Regions from separate parts of the Homo sapiens genome. Here region 1 is linked to region 2. The links are contacts of gene promoters, found by promoter capture Hi-C in human tissues and cell types (Jung and others, 2019). All regions are on one chromosome and are shown on one strand. The core of a region is centred on a gene start or on the middle of the fragment in contact, and the rest is flanking DNA. Distances in the headings are between cores, read along the strand shown. Region 1 overlaps TEX2 (testis expressed 2). Region 2 holds the start of CD79B (CD79b molecule).

What was found. The method cuts DNA at HindIII sites, captures the fragments that hold promoters and counts their contacts. A contact is called where the count stands out against the background at its distance.
Region 1: a fragment that was not itself captured here is called in contact with the fragment with the promoter of CD79B in region 2 in 2 of the 25 tissues and cell types used here (adrenal gland and dorsolateral prefrontal cortex).

What each region holds. Positions count from the first base shown.
Region 1 is chr17:64,207,077-64,213,312 of GRCh38, reverse strand. TEX2 (testis expressed 2) reads left to right here. Exons shown (of 12, transcript NM_001288732.2): 2 at 1-739. Among named protein-coding and RNA genes, the nearest start is that of TEX2, 53 kb to the left of the region's middle. The HindIII fragment of the contact is 3,395 bases long and covers 1,744-5,138 here.
Region 2 is chr17:63,931,027-63,937,418 of GRCh38, reverse strand. It overlaps CD79B (CD79b molecule), which reads left to right and starts at 5,088. Exons shown (of 6, transcript NM_000626.4): 1 at 5,088-5,224; 2 at 6,034-6,084. The coding sequence starts at 5,158. RefSeq lists enhancers at 3,433-3,837, 4,412-4,461, 4,472-4,581, 4,438-5,108, 5,082-5,471 and 2 more and a silencer at 6,169-6,238. The HindIII fragment of the contact is 19,928 bases long and covers 1-6,392 here.

The sequences.
Region 1 (6,236 bases), core at 2,192-4,691, 280 kb before region 2:
TCAGCTCCTTAGTAAAATTATAGGGGAAGAAAGTGGCAGCCATAGGCCCAAAGCCTTATCTTCAAGTGCTTCAGAACTCTCCAATCTGTCCAGCTTGAATGGGCACTTGGAAAGCAATAACAACTACAGCATCAAGGAGGAGGAGTGTGATTCTGAGGGGGATGGCTACGGAAGTGATTCCAACATCCCCAGAAGTGACCACCCAAAGTCCACTGGTGAGCCCACAAGAGAGATAGAACTGAAAAGTTCCCAGGGGAGCAGTCTGAAGGATTTAGGCCTGAAGACAAGTTCTCTAGTTCTGGAGAAATGTTCTTTGTCTGCCTTAGTGAGCAAAGAAGATGAAGAGTTTTGTGAACTGTACACTGAGGACTTCGATTTGGAAACGGAGGGGGAGAGTAAAGTTGATAAGCTCTCAGATATTCCTCTCAAGCCAGAGGTGCTCGCGGAAGATGGTGTGGTCCTTGACAGTGAGGACGAGGTGGACTCGGCCGTGCAGCACCCGGAATTGCCAGTGAAGACGTTGGGCTTCTTTATAATGTGTGTCTATGTGTACCTCATCCTCCCCCTCCCCCACTATGTGAGTGGACTCTTTCTGGGAATTGGCCTTGGATTCATGACTGCAGTTTGCGTGATTTGGTTTTTTACACCACCAAGTGCTCATAAATATCACAAGTTACACAAAAATCTGCGACACTGGAACACAAGATCTCTGGATATCAAAGAACCTGAAATACTGAAGGTAAGCCTCTCCCCGGGAGCTGGCTAGTACACACACTTCTCACATACAGCCGTATTTTAGATCTGACTTGTTTTTTGGTTAGCTGTTAAAGATTTTTGCACAGGCCGTGTTTTTTAAGAGCTTGGGGCCACTTCATTCTCCAGGCACCCAGTCAACTCATCTGGTAAACCTCATTCTAACCCAAGCTTTGCAGATTCACAAAGTAGTTTCTGAAAGATCTCTGTGACTCTAGAGAATAGTGTTTACATCAGTTCCTGTTCTGGTCTGTCTCTAAACTTACTTGGAATGTGCTACTTGCTGAGCATTTTTAATGGCTGAGTCTGTTAGGGTTCACTATTCTTGAGACCTTGAAGAAGGGTTAAATACTCCCGGAATTGCAAGAGGAGGGAAGGAAGAAGAGAAGGCAAATTAATGTCAGCTGTTGGCCCCTGCTGGTGCTCCTCTTTCCTTTGCACGGTGGGGAATGGGATGGAGAAAGATGTCATCTTTCACTGCATATCAGATGTCAGGCTTTTGGGCCTCCTGAGGGGTCCCTGGGACAATTCATTGGGAAGCAGGAAGAAACATTCATCTAGCTGTCTAATCTGTCGATTGAGACGGAGTCTCACTATGTTGCCTAGTGTGGTCTCAAACTTCTGGGCTCAAGTGATCCTCCTGCTTCAGCCTTCCAAAGTGCTGGGATTACAGGTGTGAGCCGCTGTGTCCAGCCTAGAACTTCTATTTATTATTATTTTTTTGCATATTAAAATTTCTGGTTATGTGTATACACACTATAAAAGTACAATTAGAACTTATATAGTTTGTAAGTTATATGCACACACACATTTATGTACAGTATCCAAGGGGGCATTGGTTTCAGGACCCCCCCCAAGGATACCAAAATCGATGAATGTTTCAGTCCCTTATGTAAAATGGCATAGTATTTGTATTAATATATAACCTATGCTCATTCTCCTGTATACTTTTAAATCATCTCTAGATTACTTATAATACCTAACATAATGTGAATGGTTATTATGCTGTATTTTTAAATTTGTATCTTTTTTACTGTTGGATTGTTATTATTTTTTTTAATTTCATATTTTCAATCCAAGGTTGATTGAATCCATGGATATAGAGGGCTGATTGTATATGTTTTTAGAGATAAGGTGGAAAGCCAGAAAAGTTTAGAGACCACTGCTTTATAAAAGTTATCTAATTCAGCTTCATAACCATCCAGGAGTTTGATGCTTCCAGTTTTACACATGAGGAGATTCAGGCTCTGAGAGAGGTGGTCATTGTCCAAGGTGTCTTGCTACTTAATAAGTAATAGAGGCTGGGCATGGTGGCTCACGCCTGTAATTCCAGCACTTTTGGAGGCTGAGGGAGGCAGATCACTTGAGGTCAGGAGTTCAAGACCAGCCTGGCCAACATGGTGAAACCCTGTCTCTACTAAAAATACAAAAATTAGCTGGGCTTGGTGGCGTGCACCTGTAATCTCAGCTACTTGGGAGGCTGAAGCAGGAGAATTGCTTGGGCCTGGGGGCTGAGGCTGCAGTGAGCTGAGATTGCGCCACTGCACTCCAGCCTGGGTGACAGAGTGAGACTCTGTCTCAAAAATAATAATAATAATAATAAAATAAGTAACAGAGGTAGGCTTTGGAGCCTTTGTGTGTCCTCTTCCTGCTTTTCCCATGACACCTCTCTGCAGAAGGTTCATGCCTAGACCTGCCTGGAGAATTCCTTGTGTTACAGGAGATGTATGAAAAGGAGAACTTCGTTTCCCTGGAGCAATTTTGAACCTTAATTATTGGTTTTAATCTTTAGCTTTTCAAATTCAAAGCTTGTTTGGCTTCTTAGTTAAATTAAAGGTATTATTCTCCCATCTATTTAAATGAGAATGCTCTAAAAATGGCAGCGTGATGTCCCTATTGCAAAAAAAAAAAAAAAAAAAAAAAAAGCTGGGGGTTGGGGAGAATTCTTTTAGGATCCAAAATAATATTTGTTTTTAAATTTCATTGACTTTTTTCCTTGTTCAAAGGAAATACATGGTTAATGTTTTAAAAACACAGGAAACCCAAAGAAAAAAAATTTTTTGATCACACTAGTGGAAGGGAATTACAGTTAATGATTTGGTATATATCCTAGTTTTTTGGGTTTTTAAAATTTCTGCATATATGAAGATATGCATCACATACATGCATACTCACCCACTCTTTTTGTTTTGATTTAATAGGATCATATATTTTGCAGTCTGACCTTTTTTCTTTCTTTCACATGGCAATATGTTATGACACTTTCTTCTTTAAGAGAAGCTGTGTTGAGTCTTGTGGATGTGACACCCTTAAGCTTAGCGTTAATAAATGAAGTGGAGCAAAAATGACTCACGCGTGGTTGCTGAGCTTTTTCTGATAGGGTGGTGCAGTGACTACCTGAAGTACGTGCTCTCCAAGTAAGTTCGTGCTAACTTTAGCAAGGAAAAATTGCGCTTATATTAACTCTAGTACCTAATGACTGACTGTGGCATTCAGTTTAAACTGGTTTGAGCACTGACTTGTCTTAGGAAGATTTTAATTTTAATCCAGTCAATCTTTAGTGTTTTTTTCCTACCCTCTTCTCAGATGTAAATTACTTAGTGTCAATCCAATCACTGTGATATGTCAAGAGTTTACTAACTACACAGGGTGCCGATGGAATGGGATTTTAATGTTATAGCACAGCCTGGTTGCTTTGATCTGATCACTGGAAGAATAAAGGCAACACTGTGATGCTGAGCACTGCAGTGGGCTAAGTGTTGGGTGTATTATCTCATTCAATCCTCGTCACAACCCTGTTCAGTTAGCGTATATGTGCTCATGCAGATGGAGGCCCACAGAAGTTAAGTTATTGCCCAAGGTCACACAGCTAGTGTGTGGTGGAGCCTTGTAGGACAGTGTTTTCTTTTAAGGAAGGTGTTTTGCCCACAGTGGCTAGGATAAACGTATTTGAATTTTCCTTGTAGAGAACAAGTACTTTAATGCTCTCATAGACTGACACCCCTAATCCAAGCAAACTGTCATAGACTAAGCATTTATTCTTCCTTATTGCTGTTTGGACAACTCTGATCACTTTGGTAATTCTTTTTTCATTCTTAGCCTTAACTTGTTTAGAATGGTTTCATTACTAAAGAGGAAAAGTATATTTTAGCCTGAAGTCTTTTGTTGGGTATGCGGTGTTGTTTTTAGAAACTGGGCTGAATGCATTCTCTATTTAGAAAAGGGACACTACTATGAATTAGAAGGATATGCTGTCTGTTACAAGCTAATTTCAAATGCAAATGTTCTTTGGACTTAGTTAATTTTACTGAATGGGAGATTATACTCTTGGGAACCGTTTTTAAACTATGGTACTTTAAAACATTTAGCAGCGTTGACATTAACTTTAGGACCCAAGTTTACTGTTATCTGTCTTCCCTAATATTCCATAAGCTTCATGAATGCATAGGCCCTGTCCATCTTGTTCATCTTGTATCCTCAGCACCTGCCACGTATTAGGTATGTGATAGGTAATTGTTGGCTGAATGGATGGGTAGATGAATGAAGGAGTGAGATTTTATCAGAAGATTTGAGCAGTGAGTTGGTATTGACCCTGTCATCTCCTGGTGATGTTGCTTTTTAAAAGAAATCCCTAGCTGGGCATGGTAGCCCACACCTGTAATCCCAGAGCTTTGGGAGGCTGAGGCAGAAGGATCACCTGAAGCCAGGAGTTTGAGACCAGCCTGGGCAACACAGCAAGATCCCATCTCTACAAAAAATTTAAAATAATTAGCCAGGTATGGTGGTGCATGCATGTGGTCCCAGCTACTCAGGAGGGTGAGGTGGGAGGATCACTTGAGTCCAGGAGTTTGAAGCTGCAGTGAGCCATGATAACACCACTGCACTCCAGCCTGGGTGACAGAATGAGACTCTGTCTCTAAAAAAATAAAATAAATCCTTGATGCTTGCTTTAAAAAAAATAGGGTTTAATAGGAGTGATCTTTTAAGAAAATGAAAATAATTACTAAAAAGTAAAGCTTTTGGTTGGGCGTGGTGGCTCACCCCTGTAATCCCAGCACTTTGGAAGGCCAAGGCAGAGGATTGCTTGAGGTCAGGAGTTCAAGACCAGCCTGGGCAACATAGTGGGACCACCATCTCTATAAAAGTTTTGTTTAAAAAGCCAGGTGTGGTGGCGCAGCTTGCAGTCCCAGCCACTCGAGAGGCTGAGGCAGGAAGATCGCTTGAGCTCAGGGGGTCAAGGCTGCACTGAGCCGTGATCATGCCACCGCACTCCAGCCTGGGCAATAGAGTGTGACCCTGTCTCAAAAAAACAAAACAAAAACAAAAACAAAAACAAAACAGTAAAGCTTTTCCTAAGCTTTTTTTCTGAAAGTGGACAAGCCAAGACAGTCCATCTTTAACAGGATTTGAAGCTTGACATTTGTTGCTTAGAAATCGACTGGTGACCCAAGTCTGCTCTCCTGTGACCAGTGCTCACGCAGTGCTGCCCTCCTGAATGCAAAGGGAGTAGTAGAAAGGCAAATACTGGCCGGGTGTGGTGGCTCACGCCTGTAATCCCAGCACTTTGGGAGGCTGAGGCGGGTGGATCACGAGGTCAGGAGATCGAGACCATCCTGGCTAACAGTGAAATCCTGTCTCTACTAAAAATACAAAAAAATTAGCTGGGCGTGGTGGCGGGTGCCTGTAGTCCCAGCTAGTCATGAGGCTGAGGCAGGAGAATGGCGTGAACCCGGGAGGCAGAGCTTGCAGTGAGCTGCGATCGCACCACTGCCCTCCAGCCTGAGTGACAGAGCGAGACTCCGTCTCAAAAAAAAAAAAGAAAAAAAAAAGGCAAATACTAAGTGGAGGATTGGAGAAGTGGGCAGTGATGAGTTCCAGATTTCCACTCTGCCTCCAGGTTGATGGCTTTAAAGTGATGTAGGAGATAGACCTTGGTTTCTTTATAAAACAGGCCTGTGAACTTGTTTCTAGGGCAAGCCAAAAGAGCCACTTATTGAAAATGTTTGATTTCAGGGGATAAGTGAGCTGGTTTGAATTATTTTGTGTACATCTGATCCAATTTAGTTGGTATTTACAGAAGATGGTGCAATTCTTGAGGGAAGGTACGGAAGCCTTTTTAAAAAGCTCACCAATATGGAAGACTATAATACCTGCCTGCGACCGAGATCTCCAAGACAGGCCCAGCCCAGGACCGAGATCCCGCATACTTTATGCCCTAAGAGGACTCCATATATGAGCTGTGAACCAGTCAGGCAGTGAGCTGGGTGCTCAGGGACTGTTTTAGGAGACCATGTGGTTTTGAACCTCTGAGCCGTATAAGTTCTCACTGATGGGTCCAGGAACTGCTTGCAGCCAGACTGGACTAAGAGTCTTGCCCCTTTACTGGTTCCATGAACAGTTCAAGGAGCATTGCAGTTTTTCTTCTGTGTAACTTCACATGCTGAGGAAAGAATGGAGAAAAGGAAAGTTTTTGTGTACTTTAT
Region 2 (6,392 bases), core at 3,839-6,338:
CCTGGAGTGGGAGCTTCTTCTTACTTTTTTTTTCAAAATTTTTATGTCAATAGTTTTGGGGGTACAGGTAGTTTTTTTTTTGGTTACCTGGATAATTTCTTTAGTGGTGATTTCTGAGATTTTAGTGCACCTGACACCTGAGCAGTGTACACTATACCCAATATGTAGTCTTTTGTCCCTCACCCCTCCCTCAACGTTCCCCCACTGAGTTCCCAAAGTCCATTATATCATTCTTGTGCCTTTGCATCCTCATAGCTTAGCTCCCACTTACAAGTGAGAACATATGCTATCTGGTTTTCCATTCCTGAGTTACTTTACTTAGAATAATGGCCTACAGCTCCAACCAGGTTGCTGCAAAAAGATGCTATTTCGCTTCCTTTTTTTTTTTTTTTTTTTTGAGACGGAGTCGCACTCTGTCGCCCAGGCTGGAGTACAGTGGCGCGATCTCGGCTCACTGCAAGCTCCGTCTCTCGGGTTCACACCATTCTCCTGCCTCAGCCTCCCAAGTAGCTGGGACTACAGGCGCCTGCCACCACGCTCGGCTAATTTTTTGTATTTTTAGTAGAGACAGGGTTTCACCTGGTTAGCCAGGATGGTCTCAATCTCCTGACCTCGTGATCCGCCCACCTCAGCTTCCCAAAGTACTGGGATTACAGGTGTGAGCCACAATGCCCAGCCTATTTCACTCCTTTTTATGGCTAAGTAGTATTCCATAAAGAGGTGTATATATACCACATTTTCTTTATCCACTCATAGGTTAGTAGGCACTCAGGTTGGTTCCATATCTTTGCAATTGTGAATTGTGCTGCTATAAGCATGCGTGTGCATGTGTCTTTTAGAAAATCAAAATTATATCAAGTATCTTCTCCAACCACAGTGGAATAAAACTAGAAATCCACTCCAAAAGGAACCCTCAAAATTATACAAATATATGGAAATTAATCTGTTCTTGAGTGATTTGGGGGTTAACAATAAAATCAAGATGGAAATTTAAAAATTCTTTGAAATGAATGATAATGACACAACTTCTCAAAACCTCTGTGATACAGCAAAAGTGGTAGTAAGAGGAAAGTTCATAGCATTAAATGCCTACATCAAAAACTCTGGAAGACCACAAATGCCTCAAGGTACCAGAGAAACAAAAACAAATTAAACTCAAACCCAGCAGAAGAGAAGAAATGAGAAAAATCAGAGCAGAACCAAATGAAATTGAAACAAACAACACAAAAGATCAATTAAAACAAAAAGTTGGGCCGGGCACAGTGGCTCATGCCTGTAATCCCAGCACTTTGAGAAGCCGAGGCGGGCAGATCACGAGGACAGGAGTTTGAGACCAGCCTGGCCAAAATGGTGAAACCTCATCTCTACTAAAAATACAAAAATTAGCTGGGTGCAGTGTTGCACGCCTATAGTCCCAGCTACTTGGGAGGCTGAGGCAGGAGAATCACTTGAACCCAGGAGGCGGAGGTTGCAGTGAGCTGAGATCATGCCACTGCACTCCAGCCTGGGCAACAGAGCAAGACTCCATCTCAAAAAAAAAAAAAAGCTGGTTCTTTGAAAAGATAAAATTGATAGACCATTAGCAAGATTAACCAAGAAAAGAGAGAAGATCCAAATAAGCTCTATTAGAAATGACACTGGAGACATTCTTTTCACTTTAAGTTCCTCCAGACCTCGCCTGGAGCCCTCTCTGGCATCAGGGACAGGAAGATTTGCAGAGCGCAGGGTGCTCAAGCCCACACATCCTTTGAGCCTTGAATGGTGGAAGAAAAAAGGCCTCATATTGGGTGAGAAACAGAGACAACTTGGGACAACAGTCACAGCTACCCACCTCCCCAGGCATCCGTGCCACTCCTCGCACTCCTCGCCCTCCTCAGGGCGTGCCGTCCACCACATTCACCAAGTACCTCAGATGCAGGATGGCCTTCAATGTGCACAGCTGCCCTTCGACCAACGCACTGTTGGGGCCGGGCGCAGTGGCTCACGCCTGTAATCCCAGCACTTTGGGAGGCTGAGGCGGGTGGATCGCTTGAGCTCAGGAGTTTGAGACCAGCCTGGGCAACATAGTAAAACCTGTCTCTACAAGAAATACACAGATTAGCCAGGTGTAGTAGCATGACCTGTAGTCCCAGCTACTCGGGAGGCTGAGGTGGGTGAATCACTTGAGTCCAGGTGGCAGAGGTTGCCGTGAATGGAGATTGCACCACTGCACTCCAGCCTGGACAACAGAGCAAGATCTTGTCTCAGAAAAACCCCAGAAAACAACAACAAAAAAACGCGCTATTGGGCTTATTTCTATTTTACGAAAATGAGGAACCTTGGTCACTGAGAGGTTAAGAATGGGTGTTGCCTCATGGGTGCTGTTGGCATGTGGGGCAGGGAACTCTGCTTTGCCAGCCAATGCCCCTCCCGCCCCAGGCACCCACCGGTCATTGAGACCAGCGCGATTGCCCTGATGCATGTGCAGACGCTCCCTCCGTTGGGGCAGAGCCACCCTTAGTAGAGAACCACTGGTAACCTGGGGAGGTTTCCTGGCTGCTACACTGCTGGGTCAGGACTCAAACCCACGTCCTTCTTAGCAGGTCTTTTCCCAGTCACAGCAGCCCAGCAGATCCAGGACACCTGGGCTGGAGAAGGAGGCAGGGGTCTGAGCTCTTCTTTCCCTGAGGTTCTTCCCCCTCCCGGCATCCTAGGGTGGCTGGGGGTCGCTGCCTTCTTGCTTCCCCACCCCCTGAGCCCCTTGTCCCTTCGCCCGACCCTGGCCCCCATTCCTTATTTTGATGTTGCCTTCCTGGAAAGGGAGGTGTCGTCAGAAGTCAGAATGTGAAGCCCCGGGCAGCCGAGGGCAGAGGCAGGGGTAGGCTTGTGAGGCCTCCTGTTCTGGGAAGAAAAGGGCATCATGAGCCCAAAATGGGGCTCAGGGCTGTTGTCACCAGTGAGGGAACAGCACGGCTCAAAATGTGACAAATAACCCTGCAGGCGGTGGGGCCCCCGCTGCCTCCGCCCCTCCTGAAAACAGATCCCTGCCCGGCATGAATGGGAATGAAGCCCAAAGGCCACATCTGCATCCTTGTCCACGGGATGTGTGTGTCTTCCCTCCCTGGAGTGGGAGCTGCTTCTCACTTGTTTTTTTAAATTTTTTATTTCAATATTTTCTGGGGTACAGGTAGTTTTTTTGGTTACCTGGATAAGTTCTTTAGTGGTGATTTCTGAGATTTTAGCGCACCTGTCACCTGAGGATGGGTGCCAACTGCCCCCCACCAACCTCCGTGCCCCCTACAGTCCGCTGAGCCCTAGGACCAGCTCCAGAGTAGGCCCCACACCACAGGGTCCAGGCAACACACCTGTGTGAGCATGCACATACACACACACACACACCCCCCACAAACACGTGTGCCCCAAGCCTTTCCCAGTTATACCCCCCAACTTTGGGGAGACACTAGCCCCAAAGTTAATGAAGGACTCTGTCGTTAGGGGCTCAGGAAGAGTATTTCCTAAACCATGAGACTCCCAGATTTTGCCCCACTCCCCCCGGGTCAGTCTCTCTCCAGCCACCCTCACCAGCATGCGGGCCCATGGGCCTCAAGCTGACCTCAGGTGATGTTTATATTTCTGAGCTGTTTATTCCATGAACTGAACATCTGACAGCTTTTCAGAGAAATGTTTTTTCATTTGGAACATCTGGAAACAAGAAAGAACATCTGGGGCTGCCCGGAACGGGCTGTTCCTCGGATGAAACCTTAACCCTCCTGCCCCTGACTTCCGTGGCTCAGGTCCTGGCCTGCACCCCTTGAGAGTGGCCCCCACCTTATCAGGTCCGAGGCCTAGGCCAAGATCTAAAGAGGGACCACCCAGACCCTCTGCCTTCCAACCATGGCATGGGAGGTGGTTCTGCTTCTCCCTAAATCCAGACAGACCTGCCCCAGCACAGACTGGAAAACGGAGGGTTGTGAGGAGAGTGAGAGGTGGACAGAGGGCACCGACGATTTAGCATCTCTTCCTCTCCTGGGGGTCGAGGATGAGAGACAAAAAAGAAGCTGCCAGGAAACATAAAATTCAGAGGGCTCAGCTGCAGGGCTGAGGTCTGCAAGCATGCTGTGTACACTTGTGCATGTTGTGCCCTGCACAAGGGCATCTCTGAAGGGGCTGCATTGGACCCAGGGGCAGGGGCGCAAAGGTGAGTTTATATCAGTTCCTGAGCACTGTGGCTCCATCCAGCACTCTGAGGACAGGCAGGATACAGCTGGAGGACCTGAGGGCTCCCCCACACCAGCTCCTGTTCCCTGCCCAAGACCCCCTGGACCTGCAGACAACAATTCAACGCACTCAGAGTCCCACAGTTAAGAACTCCCTGAAGAAGCCCCCAGTGGCTGCGTGGTGGATTTTCGCAAAGCTGTCTCCACCTACATCCACCCTGTTTGGCAGCCCCTACATACTCTTTCACAGCATGAGGAAGGGAGGCCTCTCACCAAGACCTGGACTGAATCTTCTCCCAGTGGCTGCCACACTTGACCTGCTCTTGCTCCAGAACCTCTGTGGCTCCCATCCTCCACAGGGTCAACTTCCAACATGGCTGCCTGCACTCCAGCCAAGAGGCTCTGCTCTGGGCCCCTCCAGATGCCTGACCTGGGTCTGTGGCTGCCCTGTCCTTCTTCAGTGCTCCTCTTCCCGCTGGGTGAGGAATAGTTCAGGACAGAGGAGCTAAGTTCAGGTTCATTCATAGGACAGGTGCCTATTTCGCTCACGGCCCAGGAATAGAGACTTGCCGGGCTCGGCCCTTCGGGGAGTTGGCAGACGGCAGAGGGGAGGCTGGCTGGCCCAGGGGATGACCACCGGTGGGGTAAGCACAGACAGAGGGGAGCACAGGCTTCCCCCAGAAGACTGAGAGGCCCCCCAGAGGCATCCACAGAGGACCCCAGCTGTGCTGCCCAAGCTGGGCGACCGCCAAACCTTAGCGGCCCAGCTGACAAAAGCCTGCCCTCCCCCAGGGTCCCCGGAGAGCTGGTGCCTCCCCTGGGTCCCAATTTGCATGGCAGGAAGGGGCCTGGTGAGGAAGAGGCGGGGAGGGGACAGGCTGCAGCCGGTGCAGTTACACGTTTTCCTCCAAGGAGCCTCGGACGTTGTCACGGGTTTGGGGTCGGGGACAGAGCGGTGACCATGGCCAGGCTGGCGTTGTCTCCTGTGCCCAGCCACTGGATGGTGGCGTTGCTGCTGCTGCTCTCAGGTACAGAACCCACGACGAGGCCTGTGGGGTTTGCTCTCATCTCCAGCTGTCTGGGCCCTGCGGCTCTGCCTCCTGCTTGCTCCACCCTCCTCCTCTGTCTCTCACTCTTTACCGCCTGTCTCCCTCTCATGGCCCTGGGGCCTGGGTCTGTGGGTGTCAGCTGCACGTGGTGATGGGCTCAGGAGCCTGTGGCCCCAGTTCCTCTCCTGCCTGGAGAGCATCAGGCTGAGCTGGGCATGAGGAGCAAACCAGAGTTAGCAACCAGGACCGTGGAAGAACTAGGCTCAGGAGGAAGAGAGGCTGAGGGCGGTGCCTGGGGGTCGGGAGGGGAGAGGCTGTCCCAACCGGACCCTGGAAGATGCAAGATCCAAATGTGGTCCCCTCCTCTGGGAGGTGAAAGATCCTCCGGGCTGTGACTTTCTTCCTGTCTCTCTTTAAAAAAAAAAAAAAAAAGAGAGACAGGGTGTCCCTATGTTGCCCAGGCTGGTCTCAAACTCCTGGACCCAAGCGATCCTCCTGTCTTGGCCTCTCAAAATACTGAGATTTCCCTGTCCCTCCTGTCTCATTCAGATGCCTGCTCAAAGCCACCATGAGGGTCAAAGGCAGAAAGGGGGCTGGGGGCAGGGCTTCCGGTACCCCCACCCCATATCTGTCTCCCAAGTACTGGGGGCAGGGAGGACCGAGGGGTCTTGAAGCTGCTGTCATGGAAGGAGGAAGTAGCTCCGGGAACATAGAGGGCATGCAGGGGTGGGGCAGCCCAGGCCAGAGGAGGCCCTGACTGGCCCCGCCCACTTCCTCCCACCCAGCAGCTGAGCCAGTACCAGCAGCCAGATCGGAGGACCGGTACCGGAATCCCAAAGGTCAGTAGCCTCGCCTGCCGCTTCTGAGGGCAAGTTGTGTGCGACTATGTCCTGTGTCCGACTATGGTCCCTGTCCTGGGGGCGGTCCGCCTTCCCACCCTTGCCTGATCTCCCCATCCAGGATTCCCATCCCCAGGCCTCCTTAGGATCTCCTCTGAGCCCCACCCCCAGCCCACTGTCATCCTCATCAGACACATGCCCTCCAGCCTTGGCCACTGAAGGGCTGGGCTAAACTCTGGGTCATAGCAAGGGAGCCTGGGGGTTCCTCTAGGACTCAGGCCCGGGCCTGTCTAGCTGGGAATCTGGCT